3 separate regions of the Homo sapiens genome follow, and regions 1 and 2 are each linked to region 3. Evidence: promoter capture Hi-C in 16 types of primary human blood cells and fetal thymus (Javierre and others, 2016). All regions are on one chromosome and are shown on one strand. The core of a region is centred on a gene start or on the middle of the fragment in contact, and the rest is flanking DNA. Distances in the headings are between cores, read along the strand shown. Region 1 overlaps GTF2A2 (general transcription factor IIA subunit 2). Region 2 holds the start of BNIP2 (BCL2 interacting protein 2). Region 3 holds the start of VPS13C (vacuolar protein sorting 13 homolog C).

Region 1 (4,307 bases), core at 1,315-3,814, 2.4 Mb after region 3:
TACCGACCGTTGCCGGCAAGGCCCCGCGGCCGGCACCGGAGAAGGGCGGCGAGGCGGCGGTGATGGTCGCGTCCCGTGGCGGGAGGCTCGTCGTTCACGGGGCGCCCACAGAACCCACCTAGGGGAGGTCTTCAGCCCACCACCGTATTTTCAGCCAGGTGAATGTCTTAAAGCATCCACTAGCGCCCTGTGAGTTTTGCCGAATTTCGGAGAGCATTTTTTAAATGTCTCATTCCTGTGCTTTGTAGCTTGTTGTTTGAAGTCTGCCTTCCAACTTTCTTCGTGCGAACTCCGACAAAAGGAACGAATTTTAAACTTGGTGGTTTAATCAAAAAATGCTAGGACGAGTTACTTCCGAATTTGACTTCTAATTTTCTGAACTGCAAAACAAGAAGGGAACAATAAATTTCTGTGGCTGATACCACATCTAAAAGATTAGAACACTTAACAAGGAATTTTTAAAGAATGTAAGAACATTGAAATCAGCACTTTTAACAAACGTTTAACGCAGGGCTATTTTCTAGATAAACTCAAAAATTTGTCAAATGGGACACGATGCACGATTCTGTATTCCTACTCTGTGGAGTTTTTATCTACCTATTGGGACTTCTTGCCCTTTTTAACCCCCTCTCCCCTCCCACACGCATATTATACTTACTGATATTTGCCTTCGTTTACTGAACAGATTTTTTTTTGGCTCCTATTGTGTGCCAGGTACTGTTCTAGACGCCTATTTTACTTAAGTGAACAAAATAAAAAGCTTTGCCCTCATGGAGCTTACATTCTATTAGAGGATGCAGAAAATAAAATATATAATGGTGTTAGAAAGTGATGGTGCCATCAAAAAAAAAAAGAGAAATATAAAGGAGTACGGGAAAGTTCCAGAGTGGAGGTGGGAACTGGTATTTTAAAGATGACGGTGGTCAGTTTGAGCCTCATTTAGTAGGTGTTATTTGAGCAAAGACTTGAAGGAATTAAGAAAATTTGCTAAGTAAATATCAGGAAGAGCATTCAGGCAGATAGGAAAGCCAATACAAATGCTTTTAGGCCTGTCATGTTTGAGGAATAGCAAGGAAGCCAGTGTATCTGGAGAGGGATGAGCAAGAGTTTTGGGGGTGGAGGGACAAGAAGATAAAGTCAAAGAGATCATGGTAGCCGGATCATTGTAAAGGCTGATAGAAGCCATGGGAGATTTTGAATAGAGGAGAGGTATGTTGTAACTGAAGTTTTAGAAGATCACCCTGGCTGTGAGTTGTGATTAGAGTGTAGGGGTGAGTGTAGAAGCAGGGAAATCATTTAGGAGATTTTTGCAGTAATCCAGATGACGAGAGTGGCCCAGGTCAGGGTGATAACCGTAGGGATGGTGAGAAGTGGTTGGATTCTGAATGCATTTTGAAGGTAGGCCTTACAGTATTTGCTAGGAATTGGATATGGAGAGTGAGATAGAGGGAGTGGAGGATGAAATCAAAGGTTTTGCCCAAGCTCGTAGAAGTATGGAGTTCTTTAAGCCACGATGCAAAAGATAACAAATAGAGATGTTGAGTAGGCAGCTAGATTCAGGAGTGAGAAGTTCTATGCTATATGAATTTGGGGATCATCAGCAGTGGTACTTAAACCATGAGAATAAATGTTATCCGTAAGGAATGGGTGTAGACGGAAAGCAGCAGAGGCCTAAGGACTGTGTCCTGTGATATTAAGAGTTTAGCGAAAACGGGATCAACCAGCAAACAGTATTAAGAAGGATGAACTTGTGAGTTAGGACAATCCGAAAAGGGCAGTGTCCCAGAAGCCAAGGTAAGATCCTGTACGAAAGAGGAGGGAGTAATCAGCTGTGTCCAATATTCTGAGTGAGGCTAGAGAATTAGCTTTAGCATTGCCATTGATGACCTTCACCAACCTGTTTCCTTAGAGTGCTAGAGGCAAAAATTAGCTTAAGAGAAAATAGGAAAAAAGGAATTGGGAGACAGTGAATACAGACAAAACTAAGGGATTTTGCTGCAAAGGGGAACTGAGAAATAGGATGTAGCTGGCAGGGGATTTGGGTTGAGGGGTTTTTGTTTTGTTTTACTTTTTAAGGTGGGAGAAGTAGCCACCTATGTGTTTGCTAATGGAAATGATCCGCAGAGAGGGAAAATTTGATGGTGAGGGAGAGAAGTAACAACTGAATTGTCAGAACAATATCCTTGAGTGAATTAGAAGACAATGCCTGATACAAAGGTAGAAGGATTGGATTTAGATAAAAATAGGTATAGAGTTCAACTATAGTGACAGGGAGGGAGAGTATATGGGTACAGGTTGGGCATCCCAAATTCAAAATGCTCCAAAATCCAAAACTTTGAGCACCAACATGACACTGAAAGGAAATGCTCTTTGGAGCATTTCAGAGCTTGAATTTGGGGTACTCAATCACTAAGTATATACGATGCAGATATTCTAAAATCCAAAAGACTTCAGGTCCCAAGCATTTCAGATAAGGAATGTTCAACCTGTATAGCTATTGGTAGGTAGCTGGATGTGGCTGTGAGTCTGGAAGTTATTGCTGCAGTTTCCTCAGTGAAGTGTAATACTTTGTGTCATACTCAGATACATTTCTAATATATTAGCACTTTAACATACTACCAAGTATTTCACTCAACAGATACTTAATAGATACTACATACGTTGTTCTAGTTGGTAAATATGTAAATGAACAGAAGTCCCTGTCTTCAGTGTGTCATCTATTTTAGTAGATGGAGACAGAATAAGCATATATATGTTAGCTTCAGTTATTGGTATGAATGAAAATAAAGCAGTGTGAGGAAGAAGGAAGGTAATTCTTTCTTATAGGTTGATTATAGAAGGCCTTTCTGATGGAGTAATGCTTGACCCAGAGATCTGAATCAAATGAGAGAGTGAACTATGCAGGTATTTGGAAAGAATACTGTCAGCAAAAAGAAGAGCCACCACAAAGGCCCTCAAGCAGGATCATGCTTCCCCTGTCAAAGAACAGCAGGGGACCAGTATGACCAGAGCAGAGTGAGAGGGTGAGTGGGCGAAGATAGGGAAGTAGGCACTGGGGGGCCCAAATCACATAGGCCTTCCAAGCCATGGACTCTGTGGTTTTCACTGAGATGGGATGCTGCCATTGGTGGTTTTGAATAGACCAGTGATGTGATTTGCCTTATGTTTTAAAGTCTTAGTGTGGCTACTATGAGGGTGGGGTTGGGATAGGCAAGACTGGAAATAAGGAGACCATGAGTTATCACATTAACTTTAGTGACAGATGATGGTGACTTAGGGTAATAGCATTGAAGATGGTAGAAGCTGTCAGATTCTGGCTATAGTTAGAAGGACGAGCTGAAAGGTTGGCTGATGGATTGGATGCCAGGTAAGAAAAAGAGAAGTTACTCTTGACTCAGGTTTTTGAGCTGTTACAGGAAGACTATGTTTACTGTTACCGAGGTGGGTAAGACTGAGGACAGAGCATATTTGCAAGAGTAGCATCAGAAACATGGTTTTTGACAAATTGAATTTGAGCTACCTACTTGATATTTTTATCCAGTGTCAAGCAGGCAGTTTTATATATGGGTACAAAGGGAGAATTGAGGGCTGGAGATACAAATTTGAGAGTCATCACCAGATAGTAGATGGTATTTAAAGCCGTAAGTCTGGATGAGGTAACTAAGAGAGTAAAGTATGTGGAAAATAGAGGACCCAAGAAAACTTAGGGCAGTTCAACAGTTACAAGTCAGGGAGCTGAGGAGGAACCAGCAAAAGAAAATAAAAAATACAATGGTATCCAGTGACATGAGAACTGAGAATGCTGTCTCAAAGCCAAAGAAATGTTTCAAGAAGGCAGAAATGATCTGTTGAATCCAGTGCTAGCAAGGTGTGAAATGTAAGGACTGATGGCTGGCCATTATTTTTGCTGAGTTTTATCTGATGATTGCTCCTCAAATGTATTTTCCCCCATCCATCTCCAGACTGAAAGGGCCATGAGGTCAAGATCTTACACCTGACGTGTAGTGGAAGCTCAGTAAATATTTATTGACTGTGTACTGCTGCCACCCTTTTCGAGCCCCCATCCCTCATCTGTTTCTAAATCACGCACTGAAGCCCAGCTGTCTGACCTTTCCTGCCTAAAATTCTTCAGTGACTCCCCACTGCTTGCACCTATCCTGCCAAACAACTCCATCTATGCTGTCTCTTTCAGCTTCATCTCCTGCCACTCCCTATTCGTACTTATGCCCTGATAATGTAGAACAGTTTATGTTTTTCCCCACAAACATTTCATCCTTCCATGGCTTTACTTATTCTATTCTGTCAGC
Region 2 (4,313 bases), core at 1,814-4,313, 2.4 Mb after region 3:
CAAAAAGTGGAGGCTGCAGTGAGCTGAGACCATGCCACTGCACTCCAGCCTGGCAACAAAGTGAGACCCTGTCTCAAAAGAAAAAAAAAAAAGGAACAATCTAAAAGTTCAATAAAGGATTGTTTAATATATACATTATCCATAATGAAAATAATAGCATTGGAATGTATTTATTGACTTGAAAAAGAGTTCATAATATATTTTAATTATTTATTTTTATAATATAGATTCCCATATCTTTCCATAGACTGTAGAGGGTGAAGCCTCAGAATCTGTATTTTTATTTATTTATTTATTTTTGAGACACAGTCTCACTCTGTTGCCCAAGCTAGAGTGCATGGTGTGATTTTGGCTCACTGCAACCTCCACCTCCTGAGTTCACGTGATTCTCCTACCTCAGCACCCCCAAGCAGCTGGGATTACAGGTGCCCACCACCATACCCAGCTGATATTTGTAATTTTAGTAGAGACGTGGTTTCTCCACGTTGGCCAGGCTGGTCTCGAACTCCTGACCTCGGGTGATCCACCCACCTCAGCCTCCCAAAGTGCTGGGATTACAGGTGTGAGCCACTGCACCCAGCTCATATTTTAAATGAAAAGAAGAAAATGGAGATTATAAACCACTAAGTACATTATCTGATTTTTATAAAGACTTATATGTGCAATTTATACATAAAATATATATGTGTGTGAATATATATATATATATAATCTGAAAGGCTATACATAAATATGTTAATAATAATTATCTTTTTGGCTTACTTGTAGTTTGTAATGTTTCAACAATAAGTATGGATAATTAACAAGATAGGGATAAAAAGATAAGTAATAGGATGGCTTACTCGAAACCAAAGCAAACACTGATCAAGCTTATTAAATAATAAAGTTACTAAAATGAAGAAGGAACTGAAGATCTTAAAAAAAAGAAATCACATAACTATATATGATTTCCAGTGATTTTCTGCCACCCTGTGGGGAATTCTGCACATTGCAGAACTGAAGAAGCAAAGTATGAAACTACAAAAACTTCTGTAAATCAAGATGAAATTTCTTGGCCCAAGTAGTTGTTTAGCTAAAGCTCTGTTGATCAGTTTTGTTTTCTCTACTAGCTATTTAGTGAAATTGCTAGACTAGGATAAAAAGAATACCTAATACTTAAATGTGATTACAATATGACAACCAAGGTCCTAATACATATATATGAATTCATCTCACAAAAACCCTATAAGGTAGGTACTATTTTCTTCCCATTTTATCAAAGAGACGGACTTTAATCTACCAATGGTGGGTAAATGTTGCCAAAGCAATGTGAAATCCAGGCAGAATGCTGCATTTTTAGTCAATGATTTAAAATTTTGAGCTTTTCTGTTCCCCTCAGGCCTGATCGTACCCCAATGGAATCACCCAAATACTTGATGCTGAGCCTTTCTATGGATTTATCAGATGAAACTTTGGAAAGGGACTTTTTTTTTTTTTTAAGACAGGGTTTCGCTGTCACCCAGGCTGGAGTGGAGTGGCGCGATCTTGGCTCACTACAACCGCCGCCTGCCAGGCTCCAGAGAGTCTCCCACCTCAGCCTCCCAAGTGGCTGGGACCACAGGTGCATGCCACCAAGCCCACCTAATTTTCTTCTTTTCTTTCTTTCTTCCTTTCTTTCTCTTTGCTTCTTTTTCTTTCTTTCTTTCTCTGTCTCTTTTTTTTTTTTTTTTTTTAAGAGATGGGGTCTCGCCATGTTGCCCTGAGGTCTGGCGATCTACCGACTCGGCCTCTCAAAGTGCTGGGATTACAGTCATGAGCCAGCACGCCCAACTGAGAGAGACTATGATGTTCTCCAAACAAATCTCATTTGGTTGAAACTCTACAGCTGAGTATGGTCTAATTTGAGTAGTTTACCTTGAGTACTCTAACCATGGTCTATAGACCTGGGCTCTTCTGAGAACTGTTTGCAAATGGTTCACAGAGAGAGAGTAGAAAACTCTATGTCAATTTTGCAGGTAATTTTATGGCTGTTAACTCTAACGATAAAAAGTTTTGACTTGGACTTTGTATGTCTTTTCATTTTTCTGTTTTATTAACTTGTCAAAAACTAATTGAAAATTGAAAAAAATAAACCGACCGTTCCCCCAGTGAAGAGAAGCACTGCTGTAAAGCTTTTCACACTCAAATATTACCAAACTCTAAGGTCGCTTCTGAGGCCTAACTCCCCAAAATGATGCCTCGGATATTTTTCCTCGCCTTATTTCTTTTTTTTCTTTTTCTTTTTTTTTTTTTTTCCTTTTTCCTTTTATTTGAGACGGAGTTTTTGCTCTGTTGCCCAAGCTGGAGTGCAATGGCACGATCTCGGCTCACTGCAAACTCCAACTCCGCCTCCGCCTCCGCCCTCGCCTCCTGAGTAGTTGGGATTACAGACGCGCGCCACCACGCCCAGCTAATTTTTGTTTGTTTAGTAGAGACGAGGTGTCACCATGTTGGCCAGGCTGGTCTCGAGCTCTTGACCTCCGGTAATCCACCCGCCTCGCCCTCCCAAAGTGCTGGGATTACAAGCGTAAACCACCGCGCCCGACCTCCTCCCCTTATTTCATCCATTTTATAATTCACATTATTGATCGCTGATAATTGCACCTATTGTAATGATACTGATAATTGCACCTGTTGTAATAATATTGATATTGATAATTGCACCTATTGTATTACAATATTATTATTGATATCGATAATTTCACCTACTGTAATGATCAATAAAGGCAGGCAGAAAGAAAACAAAAGTAACTGAAACTACCAGGCAGCGTCCCTGCGAACAGCAAAGAGGGAAGAAACGCCTTGAGGCGTAGTAACGCCACCAATAAGGAGTCGACGCGACGGGTCCGCCCACAGGCAAGGAAGGCCGACCCCGCGAGTGCAGGCGCGAGCGCTAGCCCGTGACGTCTGAGGGGGTTGGGGGGATGCTGTGTGGGTTTCAAGAAGACGCCACGCCTCCGCCGCCGCCACGCCCCCGCCGCCTCCACCGCCGGCTGCCGCGCCCGGAGGAGGTCGGGATGTTATCACTTCCGCCGGGGCTTCTCACTGTGTCCGGGTCAGCTGCTGCCGCCGACGCCGTACCGCTGCGGCCGGGGGATTGGGCCGGGGTCTCCACCGCCGACCGAGGGGAGCGGGCTCCGCTCGGCCCTGCTTTTTGCGACCTGGCCGTCAGCCCCACGTCGCCGGCCTGGAGGGGCGAAGAGGACGAGGGGGCCAAGGCTTCCTCCGGGGTGAGTGCGGCCTGGGAGAACTCGGCACGGTGGCTCCGGAGCTGGACTGGGAACCGGCCTAGGGGCGAAAGTCTGTCGGGCGCGTGCCCACGACGTCCGGGGAGAGGAAACCCAGAGAGTTACCCTTGGTAGGGGGAGCCATAGAACCTGCTCGGGAGGTGCTTCCTGGATCCCCGCCCTGCTTAGGTCCCCGCCCTTGGCTTGGGTCCTGTTTGTATTTGGCAGTTTGGCCCCCCACCCCGTCGCTTTTCCGTTTCTGGTAGTTGTGCTCGGGATGGAACCTTGCCCCTCCTCCGCTCCCCCACCCTTTTACCCTGGTGTGGGTGAAGTGGCTGGGCTACGATGGTTCAGTATTTATGACCAGCGTCCGTCCTGGTACAGAACAAAGAAACTTGGACTTCTGGTATGCCTCGTAACCGCGGGGAATAGACACGGAAGCAGCATAAGTAATCAGGGCTTTAATAGATCTTCCCTAGTACGCTAAACCAAATACAGAGTGTGTACGTCAAAAGCCGAGTCCCCGCGTGAATCTAGACACAACCCTTTCTGTTTAAATACCTGGCAAAATGGTTTGGATTTCTGGATGCATTTCATGCCGCTGGAGAGTTACTTGTCTGTGTCTTGTGAGCTCTTTGACGAAACAGCTTTTCCGGTGTTGCATCAAGATAGTTACGGTGCCTCCTATTTATTTAATTGAATAAACTATGTGATTGCATTTTAGTGTTGCTTTTTTCATTCTCACCTTCTCTTGATTAGGATCTCTATTTCACCTAATACCTGATTTCGTATTTTCAATTAAATGTAGTTTTTCTAACATTTTATAGGAATCTCTGCAATTGTAGAAACAAATTCTGTAATTTGTAAATGGATGTTTCCTCAAAGTTACAACTGACCTTACCCAATTAAGTTACCCCTGCAGACTAGTTTCTTGATCATTTTGCACATATTCTTAGTTCTTTTTGGTTTACATTTTCTCTAAACTCTATTCCTAGTCTTCATATTCTCTAGTGCAGCCTAATACTGCTGGGCTTAGACCGGAAGTATGACAGATCCACTTCTGCAAAC
Region 3 (4,691 bases), core at 1,586-4,085:
TTTTTTTTTTTTAAACACTTTTGAGTTAATTTTTAAGTGTCCCTAACTTATACTTTTGTTTTTAACAGAAATACTTTGCTCATCTGTTTTTATTGTTTAGTCCCTCATTGAAGTTTAGTTTTGTAATTTCCTTTGTTGTCATTCTCATTGTTCTTAAGCCAGAATGAAGGCAAGAACTATAATTAATTAGAATGCTCATTTTCTTTAACCTCTGTTATCCAAATTATTTCTGATATAATGCCATACATAAGGGTGCTAATGGTGTTTCTTGACATTGGTTATAGTTTGTTTTAAATTGGGACTGTATATTTCTGACTTGTTAAATAATGGAAGATTTGGGGCATTACTGAATGCACATAATCAATCCCTTAAAACATGCTGAAAATGGAAAATAGTAAAATTTAAAGCTTTTTATACTACATGATAATAGCATTTTTTTGTACCAAAAATGTAGAGCCAAATTTTCCACTCTGAGATTTATTTTTTCTGTCATGAACCTTTCAAAGTAAGATCTCTGAAAATGACTAATAGCCCAGTGTTGATTAAATTGTATAATTACCAGAAGAGAAAAGGGTGGCAGTGCTCAGAGAATCAAAGGAAATTAATATCTGCTGTGTGACTTTGGGTAAGTCACTTAACATTCCCGAGCTTAATTTTTCTGTAAAATGAGGACCATACTACTACCTGCATTAGCTACCTCACAGCTCTTTTGTGAGGAGTACACAAAAATGCCTACCTTCGCATAATAATGACATGAGGCCTTACAAAGTATAACTGAAACATAATAAAATTGAATGATGCATATGAAAGCACATTTACACATTATTCTTTCAAAATTACCAAGTTATACCATAGAACTGTAAGGAATTACTTTATTAGACAAAGCATTAGTGTTACTCACTTCTCCCAAGAGATTGTGCCTATTGCTCCACCTGCTTGACCAAGCTATGTTGCCTGTGCCATCTTTCCTATCATCTTATACTGTTATTCATACATCCTTGGATTGGCTTCTTTCTTAACTTTTTATGGTACATGCCTTATCTCAACCAGAACATATATTGCTTCTTTACATTCCTCTTGGAGCATAGTCAGTGTGAATGTAAAAAGGAAGCGGGATTGTTAGAGTGTATGACTAGAAAGAACGTGGAGAAAGTTTGAAGAGAGTGTTCTAAACACTGGGAAGTTATTGGATGTTTTTGAGCAGGTGACTAACCTAAGCTCACCTGTGCTTTGGGAAAACACATCCGGTGTTCATGAGAATAGACTGGAGGAAGGAATAACTGGAGGCTAGGAAGTGAATTTCAAGGAGATGGATGGCATGGTCCAGAAGAAAAACATGGAGAATTTAGGAAAGATGGCAAAAGCAAAATAGACAGGTTAGGCTGTTATTTGGTTGTGGATGGTGAAGAAATCCAAAGTACTTACTAGTATTTTGTCTTTGTGACCAGCTAGGAAAAACAGACGGTTAAGGATTTATCTTCTTAAAGAGGAATGGAGTGTGCAAAAGTGGGAGAGGAATGTGATCTTGATAGTACTAGTTAGTACTGACTGGGTCTTTCTTTGTACTTTTAATTTTATTTAATACACAACACCAATTGTAGCCATTTTGATTTTCTTTCTTCTCCAGCGGACTTTGAATTTAAGATTTTTCTTTGTGATCCTGTGCAAGCCTAGGTTGTTTAAGAAAAATACACGAATAGTTTCTCAGACACTTCCTCGTAGCAAAGCACTTATTAATGCTTGTGACTACAAATAATCAGCATTTCTTAGGTTTCTTCCTGTGTACTGTATCTCAACAACTTTTTGAAATATATTTTAGGAAAAAATTTCTAGTTCTCTAAAGAGGTGAATCTCAATGGGTGGTTAAATTTCACAAGGGTTGAAAGATCTTGTGGTATAAAAGCTCTGCTTTTAAGGTCGTGCTACATCAAAGACAGTTCAACGATAGCATGGAAGAAAGTGATATATAAATAACAAGTAACTCATACTTAAAAAGGCACTACTACGTTTTGTTTTTTATATCTGTAATGAGATAGGTAACTGGTTAGTGGCTAGTGAATTAAAAGCGAATCTTAGAGAAAGGGGAAAAGAACGCGTTTCCCACAAAACGCGTATATTCAGTTCTCATTCTATGATATCTGCCATTTGATGTGGTTCTGTTCCCCTCCTCCCACTTTCAAATTATTTGTCGCGCGCCAGTGGTCCCAGCTACTCGGGAGGCTGACACAGGAGGATCTCTTGAGTCCAGGATGTCAAGTCTGTAGTGAGCTATGATCCCGACACTGCATTCTACCCTTGGCAACAGAGCGAGACCCTGTCTCAAAACAAAACAAAACAGAAACAAAATAAAAAAACAATGTTTTCAAGAAGCAGAGACCAAGCCCCAGGCGGAGTCGAACTCTAGCAGGACAAGAACGCGGTCGGTCCCTTTCCCCCACCTGATCCACAGGTGCAGGGGTGGTTGCCTAGGTGACGCTCAGCGCATACTCCAGGCCAGGCGGCTCCGGACACCGCGATGCGGCCGGAGTTCAACAGCAGGTGACGGCGGGAAAGCAGAGCGGCCACATAGATGTCCCTGTACTCGGTAACTCTTGCCCTCCCTTGTTCTTCTCGAAGGTCCTTTTTTTTCTCGTGCACGGCTGACGAGACAGGCGCAAGCTAACTTCCCCCGCACTCCTCCGTCGGCCTCTAGAGGGCCAGGGCTGCGGCGCCTACAAAGCCTCGGGATCACAGCTGGGCCTCCTTAGCTACCGGCCGGGCGACAGCGCGCCTGCGCACCGGCGGGGTCACGCGCGCGGCGCGGGGGTGGGCCTGCGCCGGAGGGGCTGTCATTTGCAGCGCTGGTCGCAGCCCTCAGCTGCGCCGGGCGGTTCCGGCTCCTCCCTCTCCTTGTGCCTCAGCGCCACCATGGTGCTGGAGTCGGTGGTCGCGGACTTGCTGAACCGCTTCCTGGGGGACTATGTGGAGAACCTGAACAAGTCCCAGCTGAAGCTGGGCATCTGGGGCGGTAAGCGAGAGGGCGCGGCCAGTGGGCTGCGGGCGCTGAGGGCCCAGCCGAGGGCTGCTCCGTCCGGGATTCTGCCCGGGCCCTGCTCCCTGCGCCGCCTGAGACTCCCCATCCCGGTGCGGCAGGTGCTAGATGCGGGAGCCTCTGCCGCCCGCGGATTCTCGGGGTCCCAGTCCCGACTCCGGCTGGGGAGATGCGGCGGGATCCCGCCCGCGCTGCCAAAGTTCCCACCTTTCTCGTCCCCCGAGGCCAAGCCCTGGCCCTGCTGTCCCCGCCCTGCCCGTTTCTGTGGTCCTCTCGCTGCACTCAGGGTGGCCCCTTTGGCCCTACAGCATAAAAACAGAGCCCTTTCTGTTTCGGTATCGCGTGGAGTGAGCATGGTTGTCTGGTCATATACGCTCGAAGTGGCACTAAGAAAAAAGGAGGAAGTTGCATCTCGCAGTTATCTTCACTATCATTTTACAGGGAGCAAGAACTGGGTTCCTTCTCTTTAGGATTACCGGGTTTGGAGAGGAACGGGCAGGAGATCTTTAAGATAGGCGTGTGCTTAGGGATTCTTACTCTTAATGCTTTCAGCTCCTGTGAAAATGATTTCTTCCTTTAATATTTACTTTTCCGTCAATACGAAGAGGATTTTGAATTTTGTTTTGGAGCAATAGAGAGAAATTCAAGCCTCGACCAGCATCGTCATTAATTAGGTGTCTGCTTGGTTGCATGCTCAGGAATTTATGCCAACGTTTTTATCCTGGAGATTAAGTGTATAAAAGTATTCAGGAAATAGTGTACTTAAACATACACTCTTCAACGAGCTTAATCGTTTGCATGAATTACGTGTTAAGCTTTGAGGACTTTGGGACTTTCTCACTCCACAAAAGGTTTGGGAACTTTGTCAGCTTTGGAGGAAAATTCAAAAAACGACTCAAATGTATGGATCTGCTTTTAATTCAAGCAACAACAAATAGCTATAGACTTCCCCTGTCCACTAGGGTAACCACTAGCCACTGTAGCTGTGGAGCACTTGATATGAGGTTAGTGCTAATTGAGACTTGCTGTATGAATTAAAACATCGTTTTGAATAAGCATTACTCCTAATGAAGTAGGAGAAAAAAATAATACCTCAATAATTTTTATGTTGCTTATGTGTTGAAATAATATTTGAATATATTGGGTTAAATTAAATATAATATTAAAGTGTATTTCCCGTGTTTTTTAGTTTTACTTTTTTTCTTTTTAAACTTGGCTTCTAAAATTTATAATTACGTATATGGAACATATATTGGGCAATGCTGTTTATACCCTGAATTACGGAAGAGCCTGGTTGTTGTTGTTGTTGTTTTTTTTTTTTGGCTTGTCTTTTTGAGACAAGGACTTGCTCTGTTGCCAAGGCTGGAGTGCAGTGGCAAGATCGTAGCTCATTGCAGCCTCCAACTCCTGGGCTGAAGTGATCCTCCTGCCTCAGCCTCCCAAAGTGCTAGGATTACAGGTGTGAGCTATAGTGCCTGGCAAGAGCCTGTTTTTAATAGGTGGCTGATCATTTGATTGGTTCACTGTGGTTTGCCCAACAATACAATAGTCCCTTGGTATCTATGGGGGATTGGCTTCAGTACCCCTGACCATACCAAAATTGGAGGTTGCTCAAGTCCCTTAAATAAAATGGCCTAGTATTTGTATGTACCCTATGCAT

Evidence for each region. Contacts are between HindIII fragments. The CHiCAGO score rates a contact against its expected background, and 5 or more counts as called.
Region 1: a contact is called between a fragment that was not itself captured here and the fragment with the promoter of VPS13C in region 3, in 1 of 17 cell types (activated CD4 T cells). The highest score is 5.8, in activated CD4 T cells.
Region 2: a contact is called between the fragment with the promoter of BNIP2 here and the fragment with the promoter of VPS13C in region 3, in 1 of 17 cell types (non-activated CD4 T cells). The highest score is 7.4, in non-activated CD4 T cells.

The regions. Positions count from the first base shown.
Region 1 is chr15:59,652,975-59,657,281 of GRCh38, reverse strand. All of the region lies in intron 1 of GTF2A2 (general transcription factor IIA subunit 2), which reads left to right. Among named protein-coding and RNA genes, the nearest start is that of GTF2A2, 2.4 kb to the left of the region's middle. The HindIII fragment of the contact is 3,604 bases long and covers 763-4,307 here.
Region 2 is chr15:59,688,070-59,692,382 of GRCh38, reverse strand. It overlaps BNIP2 (BCL2 interacting protein 2), which reads left to right and starts at 3,063. Exons shown (of 10, transcript NM_004330.4): 1 at 3,063-3,248. RefSeq lists a silencer at 2,786-3,295 and an enhancer at 2,709-3,357. The HindIII fragment of the contact is 5,510 bases long and covers 2,153-4,313 here.
Region 3 is chr15:62,058,591-62,063,281 of GRCh38, reverse strand. It overlaps VPS13C (vacuolar protein sorting 13 homolog C), which reads left to right and starts at 2,835. Exons shown (of 85, transcript NM_020821.3): 1 at 2,835-3,007. The coding sequence starts at 2,908. It overlaps VPS13C-DT (VPS13C divergent transcript), which reads right to left and starts at 2,779. Exons shown (of 2, transcript NR_135690.1): 1 at 2,439-2,779; 2 at 848-2,314. RefSeq lists an enhancer at 2,524-2,573 and a silencer at 2,624-2,973. The HindIII fragment of the contact is 3,439 bases long and covers 410-3,848 here.